2 separate regions of the Homo sapiens genome follow, and region 1 is linked to region 2. The links are contacts of gene promoters, found by promoter capture Hi-C in human tissues and cell types (Jung and others, 2019). All regions are on one chromosome and are shown on one strand. Each heading gives the region's core, a stretch centred on a gene start or on the middle of the fragment in contact. The rest is flanking DNA. Distances are from core to core; before and after follow the strand shown. Region 1 has its middle 11 kb from the start of LOXL2. Region 2 holds the start of NKX3-1 (NK3 homeobox 1).

Evidence for each region. Contacts are between HindIII fragments. The study calls those that stand out against the background at their distance.
Region 1: a fragment that was not itself captured here is called in contact with the fragment with the promoter of NKX3-1 in region 2 in 2 of the 25 tissues and cell types used here (mesendoderm cells and thymus).

Annotation. Positions count from the first base shown.
Region 1 is chr8:23,412,036-23,418,216 of GRCh38, forward strand. No RefSeq gene overlaps it. Among named protein-coding and RNA genes, the nearest start is that of LOXL2, 11 kb to the left of the region's middle. RefSeq lists an enhancer at 3,834-4,354. The HindIII fragment of the contact is 5,535 bases long and covers 1-5,425 here.
Region 2 is chr8:23,680,215-23,686,932 of GRCh38, forward strand. NKX3-1 (NK3 homeobox 1) reads right to left here and starts at 2,724. Exons shown (of 2, transcript NM_006167.4): 1 at 2,390-2,724; 2 at 1-1,425. The coding sequence starts at 2,675. The coding sequence ends at 1,007. All of the region lies in intron 3 of LOC107986930 (a long non-coding RNA gene), which reads left to right. RefSeq lists silencers at 2,306-2,355, 2,396-2,905. The HindIII fragment of the contact is 20,085 bases long and covers 1-6,718 here.

The DNA of each region.
Region 1 (6,181 bases), core at 1,408-3,907, 270 kb before region 2:
TGAAATAACATTAATTCATTCATGAGGACAGAGCTGTCATGACCTAGTCACCTCTTATCAGACCCCAACACCCAGCTCTGATGCACTGGGGGTTAAGTTTCCAACACATGAACTCTGGCGGACACATTCAAACCATAGCAAACAGTATGGTTGAATCTCAAACATATCAGGATGCCTGCCCCCAACTCTGACATGCACAAAAAAGCCAGCCACAAAAAGGAGACATACTGTATGATCCAGTCATAACTCTAGAAAACTCTAGAAAAGTCTAAACTAAACAGCAGGGACTGAAAGCAGATCACTGGTGGCCTGAGGCTGGAGGTGGGTGAGGTGGCCTGGGAAGGAGCATGAGGAAGCTTTCTGTAGTGATGGAAATGGCCTATTCCTTGATTGTGGTGGTGTTTATATTAGCATATGTGTTTGTCCCAAACTCATGAAACTGAACACTTAAAATGGGTGACTTTATTTTAGGTAAATTACTCCATAATAAAGTTGATTTTAAAAATTAGTCCCTTGGGTGCCCCTTTTCTATCCTCTTTCAAAATGAAAAGTTTGGTCCAGGCTTGATGGCTCATGCCTGTATGTAATCCCAGCACTTTGGGAGGCTGAGATGGGAGGATAGCTTGATCCCAGGAGGTGAAGACTGCAGTGAACTATGATGATGCCATTGCACTCCAGCCTGGGCAACGTAGCAAGATCCTATCTCTAAATAAATAAATGAAATAGGCTGGGTGCGGTGGCTCACGCCTGTAATCCCAGCACTTTGGGAGGCCGAGATGGGCGGATCACGAGGTCAGGAGATCAAGACCATCCTGGCTAACACGGTGAAACCCCATTTCTACTAAAAATACAAAACATTAGCCAGGCATGTTGGCGGGCACCTGTAGACCCAGCTACTCCAGAGGCTGAGGCAGGAGAATTGCGTGAACCCGGGAGGCGGAGCTTGCAGTGAGCCAAGATCGCGTCACTGCACTCCAGCCTGGGTGACAGAGCCAGACTCTGTCTCAAAAAAAAAAAAAAAAAAAAAAAGAAATAAAATAAAATGAAAAGTTTGGGGAAGAGTAATGCGGGGTAATATGTGGTTTAGAGTATAGTAGCTGGAGCAACACTGCCTGGGTTTGAATCGCAGCTCCACCACTTACTAACCATAACTGAGCAAGTTATTTAACTTCACTGGGCCTCAGTTTTCTCACCTGTAAAATAGGGAGGGACCTCATAGGATTCTTGTAAGGCTGAAATGAATGTATGCGTGTGAAGTGCTCAGAGCCCAATGCCTGGCAGACAGCAAGTGCCACTCAGTTTGAAACTAATTTACATGGACGTGACTTGTTAGCTTCAAATTGACAGCTTTTTTCTAGTTATGATTCTTTAAAAATTTTAAGAGCAGTTTTAGATTTACAGAAAAAAATAAACAGAAAATGTAGAGAGCTCCCATATGCCCCTCATACACAGTGAGTTTCCTCTACTATTTTCATCTTGCATTTCGGTGGCACATTTATCACAATTGATGAGCCAGTATGGACACATTATTATTAACTGAAGTCCGCAGTTTACATTAGGGCTTATTCTTTGTGTTGTACATTCAATGGGTTTTCACAAATGTATCCATCATTGCAGCATCATGCAGAATGGTTTCATTGCCCTAAAAATTCCCTGTGTTCCACCTTTTTACCCCTCCCTTCCCCATAATCCCTGGCAACCACGGATCTTTTCACCGTCTCCATAGTTTTGCCGACTCCAGAGTGTCCCATAGTTGGAGTCATACAGTATGTAGACTCTCCAAGAGGGGTCTCTTTCACTTAATTATGTACATAATTATTTATTTATGTTTAGAGACAGGGTCTCACTATATTGCCCAGTGATGCTCCCACCTCAGCCTTCTGAAGTGCTTCGATTACAGGCGTGAGCCACTGCAACCGGTCTCACTTAGCGATAGACATTTAAGATTCCACGCCTGCTCATGGCCTGATAGCTCATTTTTCTTTTTCTTTTCTTTTTTCTTTCTTTTTTTTTTTTTTAGACAGAGTCTCAAGAGCAGTGGCACGATCTTGGCTCACTGCAACCTCTGCCTCCTGGGTTCAAGTGATTCTCCTGCCTCAGCCTCCCGAGTAGCTGGGATAACAGGCGCTCACCACCATGCCCAGCGAATTTTTGTATTTTTAGTAGAAACGGGGTTTCACCATGTTGGCCAGACTGGTCTTGAACTCCTGACCTCAAATGATCCATTCACCTCGGATTACAGGCATAAGCCACCGTGCCCGGCTGAGAGCTCATTTTTCAAATTGCTGAATAATATTCCACTGTTGGGATGTACCACAGTTTATTTACCCATTCATCTATTAAAAGACATCTTGGTTGTTTCTGAGTTTGAGCTATTATGAATGAAGCTATTGTAAACATTCATGTATAAGTTTTTGTGTGGACTTAAGCTTTCAACTCCTGTGGGCAAATATCAAGGAGTACAAACACCAGTTGCTGGATCTTATTGTAAAAATACGTCTGGTTTTGTAAGAAACTGCCAAACTGGCCGGGCGTGGTGGCTCACGCCTGTAATTCCAGCACTTCGGGAGGCTGAGTCAGGCGGATCACAAGGTCAGGAGATCGAGGCCATCCTGGCTAACATGGTGAAACCCTGTCTCTACTAAAAATACAAAAAATTAGCCGGGCGTGGTGGCGGGCGCCTGTAGTCCCAGCTACTCAGGAGGCTGAGGCAGGAGAATGGCGTGAACCTGGGAGGCAGAGCTTGCAGTGAGCCAAGATTGCGCCACTACACTCCAGCCTGGGCGACAGAGTGAGACTCCGTCTCGAAAAAAAAAAAAAAAGAAGAAGAAAAAAAAGAAACTGCCAAATTGTCTTCAGAAGTGCCTGTACCATTTTGCATTCCAACTAGCAGCGAATGAAAGTTGCTGTTACTCTACATCTTTGTCAGCATTTGGTGTTGTCAGTGTTCTGGATTTTAGCCATCTATTAGAATTAGCCATTCCAACAGATGCCCAGTGGTGTCTCATTATTGTTTTAATTTGCAATTCTAATAACATATGATGTGGAGGATCTTTTCATGTCTGTGTTTGCCATCTGTACATCTTTGGTGAGGTATCTGCTCAGATCTTTTGCCCCCCACTTTTTTTTTGAGGCAGAGTCTTGCTCTGTCACCCAGGCTGGAGTGCAGTGGTGTGAGCTTGGCTCACTGCAACCTCTGCCTCCCGGGTTCAAGCGATTCTCCTGCCTTGGCCTCCTGAGTAGCTGGGATTACAGGTGCCTACCACCACACCCGGCTATTTTTTGTATTTTTGTTCATTTCTAAAAATTGGGTGTTGACTTTTAAAAGTTCTTTGTATCTTTTGGACAGAAGTCTTTTATCAGATAATGTGTTTTGCAAAATTTTCTCCAAGTTCGTGGCTTGTCTTTTCATTCTCCAAATTGTTTTCCACCAAGCATCTAGAATGCCATCATACCTCCCTGTCTACGAGTGTGTGTGTGTGTGTGTGTGTGTGTGTGTGTGTGTTTGTGTTTGTGTTTTGTGGGGTGGGAGTAGGAGAAAGAAGGACAACATTCGGAAGGAAGGGAGGGTACTAGGAATGAATAACACTTGATGTAGTCTTCAAGGGGCTTCTTATATTCTGATTTGAGAGAGACGATCTCATATTCAATAACAAGAAAAAGCAATGTGAGATTCATTGCAAATGCCTGGCACCCTGCAGCAAGCAGAGATCTGAGGGATTGGAGATGGTGGTAGGGGCTGCATGGAGTCTGGAGGGGGCGCCCATGTGCAGGAGGAGGAAATTGAGGTGAGAGGAGGAATGACCTGGAAAGAAGAGCAAAGCATTCCAGACTGGAGTAGGTGCTGGGTGGCATGAGAGAGTCACAGACCAGGGAGGCCAGCTTAATCCTTCCTCCTGCAGGAGCCCCAGGACATCTGGGAATGGGGCAGGTAGGGAGGGGCTACAGCGGATGGACCCTGGCAATTTGAACTATGCTCGGAACATGGGGTGACAGATTCTGAAGACAAGCTGGGCCAATATTCTCATTTTGCTGCTTCTCCTAACTTCCCTTTTGCCCCCTCCACATGGAAAGTCTCCTGCTGAGAGAAAAGGGAGACTTTCACCTAGCACAGTCATGCAGAGGGGAAAAAAAGCTGATTCAAATCTCATTCCCAGACACCTGGCTTCTGCCAGCTCTGACCACCTTGTCTCAAAGATGCAGCTGAAAGAGGGAAGGGGGAGCACCAGACAAAAATGGGAGCTTTTCTGCAGAGAGATGGGCTGGCGCTTGGCAAGGCCCACGCTCCGGGCTGCAGCCCAGCACAGCCTCACTGGTCTCCCAGAAAGCATATGAGATGCCTGCTCAGGGCGCTCAGGGTTGGCTGAGGACACAGCCTGACTGCTCTGTTCCAGTCACTGGTATTTATGAGCCTCCTGTGAGCCCAGACCCAGGTCTGCACCACAGGGGAGGCGGGAAAGGTACAAATTCTGCTCTGCCCGCCAGCCCCCTGCACTCCAGGAGGTGCCCATGGTGGGCAGAGGATGAGATGTTCAGAGGAAGCCATGGTTCAGGAAAAAGAGCCCCCAGACCTCAATAGCGTTAGCAGCAAAATAGGACGAACACGTCTCTGGACTGAATTATGTCCCTTCAAAATTCGCATTAAAGCGGTAACTCCCAATGAGATGTTATTTGGACATGAGGTCTTGGGGAGGTAATTAGGGTTAGATGAGGTCATGAGGAAGGGCCCTCAGGATTTTATTTTATTAGTGGCTTTCTATGAAGAGGCAGAGAGAGAAATCACTCTTTCTGTTTGCCAGGAAAGGTCCAGTGAAAAGATGGGTCTATGAACCAGGAACCAAATTGGCCAGCATCTTGACCTTGAACTTCCCAGCCTCCAGAACCATGAGAAATGTCTGTTGTTTATGCCACCCAGTCTGGTGTTTTGTCATAGCAGCTGAGCTGACTGAGACAAACATATGAGTGGTGTTCCCTTCCCAGCCTTCCAGCCACAGCTGGCTGTGACCAACACTGGGACACTGGAGACTTTGCTTCTCTGTTCACCCCCTCCACAGTTTACCTTCCTGCTCTGGGCCAGCGGTTGTTCTAGAAGTATGGTTGGGGACCACTGGGAGTTACCAAGACCCTTTCAGGGGGTCCACTGGATCAAACTATTTTTAAAATAAAACTAAGACCTTATTTGCCCTTTTAATTTCATTTTTTTAGAGCTGGTGATATGTCAGGAGCAGCTGGAGCCACTTCCTCCAAACTGACCAAGACTTATCATTGGGGAGAGCTCCAGGGACATCAGGCAACTTGGATTCCAGTCTTAGATTTCCCCTCAGGAAATGGGGCATTGACTTAGATAACAAAGCCTCCTCCTCACTGTAAAAATGGCATTGTCCCATTTTCCCTGAATCTTGGTGTTCTTTTTCATAGATTGAGATATAATTTTATATCCCCTACATATCTCACAAAGCTGTTAAGGAAGCCAAATAAATTAAATGTGAATGTTCTCTAACAAGAGAACATTGTTCCGTCATTATTAGGTGTAATTATTAAGAGAGGCGCAATGCAAGGAGAATCAGGAAATGAATATCCCTGCCATCCCAAACCACTGACTTGAAGTGAATTCCTCTCCAGCCTGTGACTCACGCCTCACCAACATGGGCTAAAACCTGCCTGTGTGAGAGTGAGGGACCCTGGGATCTGCCCACCCACAGGTCTTAAGCCAGCCTCTGCTCTGGCAGGGTGTAAACACCCAGAGTAGACAAACACCAGAGGAAGAGCCCTGGATGTAGACACCCAGGGGAACTACTATCCACGGGAATAAATTGGTCCCATTACCCCATCCCTGTGGCCCCTCCAACAGTGGAGCTGCAATGAGAGGTGGAGGAAAACTTCACCTTTCTTGTCTCTTCCACTTTGTAGAGTTCACCCAGTATCTCTGTATTTCTGCTATAAAATGACTACTTTTGGCAGTGATTATGCTGCAAAGGTCACATTGTCTTTTCAGCAGGGCAGTTCAGGTTGGAACTAAACTGGGTTGCGCAGCCACTGGGTGGTGACATTGTTTCTCTGCAGGTGACCTCCAACTCCAATCATGGGATGCCCAGACCTGCCCAGACCTTGGCTGGGCTCTGAGGCAAACCTTCCAGACGGGATGACCGAGGCTGCAGTTGAGGCCTGAGTCAGGAAAGAT
Region 2 (6,718 bases), core at 1,474-3,973:
CTAAAATGAAGCCCTTTAGTGAGTAATTGCTGCAAAAAGGAACACAAAATTTTAAAAGGAGGGAAGGAAGAATTATGTTGCCTTTCAGGATACAGTATATATGATAGCCTGAAAACTCCAGGAAACTTCTGATTCTAAATTCTCCAGCCCAAGGGAAAAAAGTTGAGAAGAGGCCTTTCCACTTTCTACTAATAAAAAAATGCAACAGCCCCTAGCAGCAGTGTGGAGACCCTCCTTAGGCCCCTGTCTTGGACAAGCGGAGATTCTCCTGGCCCGGCCCCCCCTCTTGCAGTGGAGTTCTGTTTATACAGCTTGTCTTAAAATCACAGCGAGTGCATCTTGTTCTATTTGGGCCACCCTGTAAATACTTAAGTTGGCATACCATTTTAAAAGGAATAAAAAGGAATAAGAAAAGCTGATATTTTCATCTCCTCCCACCCATCTCCCCCTCCCATGCAAATATGTGCTGAGCATGAGGGCGTTCTCTTGGAGACTCTCTATTTGCCCCTCTCTTTTACAGGGACAGAGAGAGCCTTGGCCATATTCCAAGGCCAACAGGAGGCTTCTGGACTTAAGTTTAATTCAGTTGGTGACATCCTCATCCTGGTTGTCCTTTCTCCTGTTAGGTTTGCTCTTTCAGAGTTGATATTCAGTGACACAGGAGGATGGAGTTGCAGAACAGAATCCTTGGGTGTACAACTCATCCAAAATCATACAAAGTGCTGGAAAATACCACTTGATTTTCCCTCTCTCCCCTTCAAACAGGTAGCCAGAAGCAAAAAAAATGACCTACAGTATGCACTGGAGGAATGACTTAGGTATTAAAACTTTCACTGTCTCTGTTGTTTCATTGTCTCACCAGTGAAGAATCTGAGATTTCCACGCAAATCTCCAATAGCTTTGGTGTGCACACCTCTTGCTCCCTGACCTTGGCCCCTTGTGCTTTTCATAGAGACACCCTGGGGAAGGCAGTTTTTGATCATAATGGTTGTCACCTGAGCTGGCATTACCAAAAAGCTGGGCTCCAGCTGCCCACGCAGTACAGGTATGGGTAGTAAGGATAGCTGTTATACACGGAGACCAGGGAGGCCCGGGAGAAGGCCTCCTCTTTCAGGGCCGGCAAAGAGGAGTGCTTCTCCAAGTCTCCCAGCTCCGAGGAGAGCTGCTTTCGCTTAGTCTTATAGCGTCTGTTCTGGAACCATATCTTCACTTGGGTCTCCGTGAGCTTGAGGTTCTTGGCCAGGTGGGCCCGTTCAGGGGCCGACAGGTACTTCTGATGGCTGAACTTCCTCTCCAACTCGATCACCTGAGTGTGGGAGAAGGCAGCTCGGGAGCGCTTCTGCGGCTGCTTAGGGGTTTGGGGAAGCCTTGGAAGGGCGCCTGAAGTGTTTTCAGAGTCCAACAGATAAGACCCCAAGTGCCTTTCTGGAAAGGAGAGTGGGGAAGGAGGGATGGGAAGACAAAAGTTACATGTTAGCAGGGAAGAGAACAGAATTCAATCCACCCTTATCTCTTTAGTGAGTGAACAAACAGCCCACTGTCATCGTGGATACATTTCACTTTTTTCACATGACTAAGGAGCTCTCCGGAGTGAAGAGTGAGTAAATATGTTTATTACGCATTCATTTGCTAAGAATCATCAAGAACCCAAAGTTAGAGACGTTTCGTGGTTGAACTTTCTCCCTACTGTCTAGTAGAATTATATGGGGATTCTGGATCTGTGTGCTGAGGAGAGGCGGGAGAGGGAGGCAGGGAAAATGCCGTGGAACAAGATACCCGGGAAGGCCAGACCAAAAGACATCCGGTGTTAGGATCCAGGTGGGCAAGAGAGGGCTTGTGCCACTGGAGACGCAGAGGCAGGCTCATTCTGGGCTTTAATTCCCTCTTCGCTAAACGAGGCGTTCGGTCGCCTCATCAGAAGTGACAGGAAAGAAAATAAGTGGACTCTCTCTCCTGGACACCGGAGGGAACCCCGAATATACCGCTTTACTGCCCACGGGATTGGGAAGCACACGGAGGCTTTGCTGGTCAACCCCTGCTTTGTCACTGTTAATAAGTTATTATTAGTTCTCATAACTACCGGGGGGCTGGCGCCGATCGCGGGTGGCGCGGGGCGGGATCCGCTCCTGGGACGGTGGAGGGCGGTGGCGCTGCAGTCGCGCCGGCTTCTGAGCCCCAGGGAGCGGAGGGCACGGAGCCGGGCGAGTCCTGCGGTGTCAGAATCCTGCGCCGCCCTGACGCTGGGGCTCAGGGTTCATTCCGGGGGCGCGCGCGTGGCTGCGGAGGCGGGAAGGTCCCTCTGCCTGTCGCCGCGGAGCCCCGCGTCCCTGCACCCCGAGCTCTGGGGGTCCGCCTTGGGCTGCCCCCCTTCCCCGGCCTCGCCGCTTACCTGGCTCGGTCTCTGCCAGCGTCTCGGCCTCCTCCGGCGCGGCGCGGGGCCCGGTGCTCAGCTGGTCGTTCTGCGCCCCGGCGCGGCTGCGTCCTCCCTCTGGCTCTGGCTCTGGCTCCGGCTCCGGGTCGCGCTGTCTCTGGCTGCTCGTGCGGCCGCCTTGCCGCTGCGCGCCGTCCCGCAGGATGTCCTGGATGAGGAAGGACGTGAGCGGCTTGGACGGGGTCGGCGGCGCGGCCCCCTCCGCTTTCGCCTCCCCGGGCCGCGGCTCCGGAACCCTGAGCATCCCGGCGGCCCCGCCTTGGCCTGAATGCACCCGCCCGGCCCGCACCGCTTTCACTTTCCGCCTCCCGGCTCGCTTATAGCCCAGGGGAGCGGGCCGCGCCGCCCTCCCATTGGCCGCGGGACGGGCCGCGCCGCGGATTGGCCGCCCTGAGCCCCAGGTGACCCCGCCGATCTGCGAGCCCTGAGCACTGCCCCGCTCCGCTCCTCCCTAGGGGATTCCTTCCCCAGTTCCCTCTCCTTCCCCAATTCCCTCTCCTTCCCCAATTTCCTCTCCTTCTCCAGCTCTCCTCCCTCCGCCCTGAGCCGTTTTCCCAGGCCAGGAGCGCACCCCAAAGCGGGGCTCCTCTGCCCCAACCCACCCGCAACAGAGAGAAGCTCCTGGGGATGGGACGATCAAGACAAACAGTCCAGTTAGCTCTTCAGGACCGTCAGAGCCAATTACAGGGGATGAGCACGCAGTCACTGCAGCCGCGCGGTACCGTGAGAGTTCTGGGTGCTCTCTCTCTCTGGGAGAGATGGTGCAAACTCAGATCTGCAATATCTACGACCTCAAAGAGGCATGACAAGTAGGTGCAGCCAGACCCCAGGCTGAAAGAAGGAAAACACCTTTGCCAAAGCCTTTTCCCGTTGCAGAAGTGGTTTTCTTTGGTGGTTCCTTTATCCGCAATAACCTGTTAACTTTCCTTCCTCCCCAGACACATGACATACCATCCTTTTGAAAAGTTTCCAGACGGATGGAAGGCGTTTTAGGCCAGGACAAATGCAAAAACTGCATTTAAAAAAGTAGTTCAAAAGAACATCAGCATACTCTTTTTGCAGATTACCAACTGTTAACATGTAACCCATTGGCTAAACAATGGGTTAGCCAGATTGGTCCAACCGGTACTGTGACTGGACTGGACGGTACCGTGACAACAGACGAAAGTGGAACAGAGATGATGGAAGTATTTTCTTTCCTTGTCTTTTCTCTTCTTTTTTTTACGGACAGGGTCTCCCTCTGCCGCCCAGGCTGGAGTGCAGTGATGCCATCATAACTCACTGCAGCCTCGATTTCCTGGATTCAAGTGATCCTCCTGCCTTGGCCTCTCAAAGTGCCAGGACTACAGGCATGAGTCTCAGTGTCAGGTCGATGATGGAAGTATTGAATTAATGTTAAATTTACTGAAATTGCACATTGTACTGTCAGTGTACAAGAGAATATTTTTAGGAAATAAACACTGAAGTAAGTAGGAGCAAAGGCACAAGATTTATGAAACTTACATCAAATGGTTCTGAAACAAGGATGCAGATTGATAGATCCCACGCCATAAAGCCGATGGGTTAAATGGTAACAGTTGGTAATCTGGAAAAAGGGTAGGCTGATGTTTTTTAGAACCATTTTTTTAATGCAACTTTTTTGTCTGTCCTGGTCTAAGACGGCTTCTATTCAACTGGCAACTTTTCAAAAGGATGGTATGTCATGTGTCTCTGGAGGAAGGAAAGTTAATAGGTTATTGCTGATAAAGCGACCGCCAAAGAAAACTACCTGTGCAACGGGAAAGACTTTGGCAAAGCTGGTTTTCTTCTCTCATCTTTTCAAAGTCTCTTTATATTAGAACATTCTTTAATGTTTTCTTTTGAATCATTGTAGATTCACAGGAAGTTGCAAAAATAATACCTCCAGTGTCCTCCAAAGACATCTATACAACTGTAGGACAATGTAGAAAACAGGAAATTTACGTTGGGACATTACAGTTAACTAGACTACAGACGTCATTTATTTATTTATTTAGAGATAGGGTCTTGCTCTGTTGCCCAGGCTGGAGTGCAGTGGAGAGATCATGGCTCACTGCAACTTCAACCTCCTGGGCTCAGGAGATTCTCCCACCTCAGCCTCCTGAATAGCTGGGACTACAGGTGTGTGCCACCCTGCCCAGTTAATTTTTGTAGTTTTTGTAAAGATAAGGTTTCACCCTGTTGCCCAGGCTGGTCTCAAAGCCCTGGGCTCAAACAATCCTTCCGCCTCCACCACCCAAAGTGCTGAGACTACAGGTGTGAGCCACTGTGCTGGGCCTTATTGTGGTTTAAATTTTTAATTTGCATTTCACAAATGCCTAGAGATGTTGAATACCTTGTCATGTGCTTGTTTGCCATCCATATTTCCTCTTTGGTGAAATATCTGTTCAAGCCTTTTGCTCATATTATAATTGAATTTTTCTTTCTTTTATTTTTTAACCATTGAGTTATGATAGTTCTTTATATATTGCTGTTTGTAAGTCTTTGTTTGGTAGGTTATTTGCAAATATTATCTCCCAGTCTGTAGCTTGTGTTTCCATCCCTCTAACAGGATCTTCAACAGAACAAAAGATTTTAATTTCATTGAAGATCAATTTATGAATTTTTGAATTTTACAGAATGTGATTTTGATGTCCTGCCTAAGAACTCTTTGTTTAGTCCTAATACTGAAGATTTGCTCCTATGTTATCTTCTAAAAGTTTTATGCTTTACTCTTCAATCCATGATTCCTTCAGAATTAATTTTTGTATATAGTGTGAGGTTTAGATTGAGATGGCCTCCTTTTATTTCTAAAATTGAGAGTTGGGTATGAATTATTTAATAACAAGTGCTGCCATTTGGAAAAGATAAAGTCCTATTCTTATGACAAAATAAATTCCAGACAGCTCAAAGATGTAAAACACAAACGAGCACGTGAAAAAAATATTTTAACTACACTTCATCAGTGAAGGAATGCAAATCAAAATCACATTGAGACGAGCCTTTTCCACCTTTCAGATTGACAAAGGTTAAAAAAAATGGATAATGTCCAGTGTAAGTGAGAGTGTGGAGGAACAGCTGCTCTCATACAGCCATGCACTGCATCGTGACGTTTGATCAGTGACAGACAGCATATATGACGGTGGTTCCATAAGGTTATGATACTGTATTTTTACTGTACCTTTTTATGTTTAGATATGTTTACATGCACAAATTCTTACCATTGTATTACCTTTGCTTACAGTATTCAGTACAGTAACATGCTGTACATGTCTGTAGCCTAGGAGCAATAGGGCATACCATGTAGCCTAGGTGTGTAGTAGACTACATCCATCTAAGTTTGTGTAAGTAGCTCTATGATGTTTGCACAGCAATGAAATTGCCTAACATTGCATCTCTCAGAACATATTCTTGTCCCTAAGGATGCATGACTGTTTTTGGATGACAACTTGGGAATATTTGTCAAAATTAAAACTGAGCATATCCTTTGACACAGCTATTCTGTGTTTGGCAATGTGCCCTAGAAGTGCACAAATACACAATGTATTGACTTGGGAACATATCTTCAATTTGGTCAGAGACTGGTTCAAGCTGCAAAGCATGTTATAGATGAAACCCATTGTATAAAACAGCACTATAAGTTACCTATATAATGTTTTTCATTTGAACACTTTAACATACAGAATATATCAGGAACAAGATTTATACATATGTATTCTTTTTTTCCATAGAGTAGTTACCTCTGCTCAGTGAGATGGAGACAGTAGGTTGGGAGAGGGACAGGAGGATAGTGGAACAGGGTGTATTTCCTTGTACTCATTGATAATTTTAAAAAATGAAAAATATCAAGTTGGAGCTGAGCCTGGACTGCCCTCCTCCACCGCGTCCTCCTCAGGCCTGTGAGTGGGGCCACAGCTCGTGGTCCTCGGCCTCACCTCACTGCATCTTTTCTCCCCTTGTGCTTTGTATTTGGGGGTGTGGATGGCTCATCTTCTTTATGAGACTATGAGCTCCCTGAGAAGGGACTGTATCCTCCTCATATTTGTACCATCTCTAAAGTCTGGCTTAGTTCTCGGCATACAGAAGGCGCTCCATAAGTGCTTGCTGGCTCAATGTCCAGCTCCAGTTGTTATGACACATCTCACTGGCTAGCGGAATTATCCATAAGGGGCCAAAGGACCCCCAGGCAAATCACAGTGGAAGGCTCGTCCTCCTCCCCTTGCTGTGTTTATGCAGTTTAAACCGGGTGAAAATGTGCAAGGCAATCTGGAGACACTCAGGGGCTGCAGC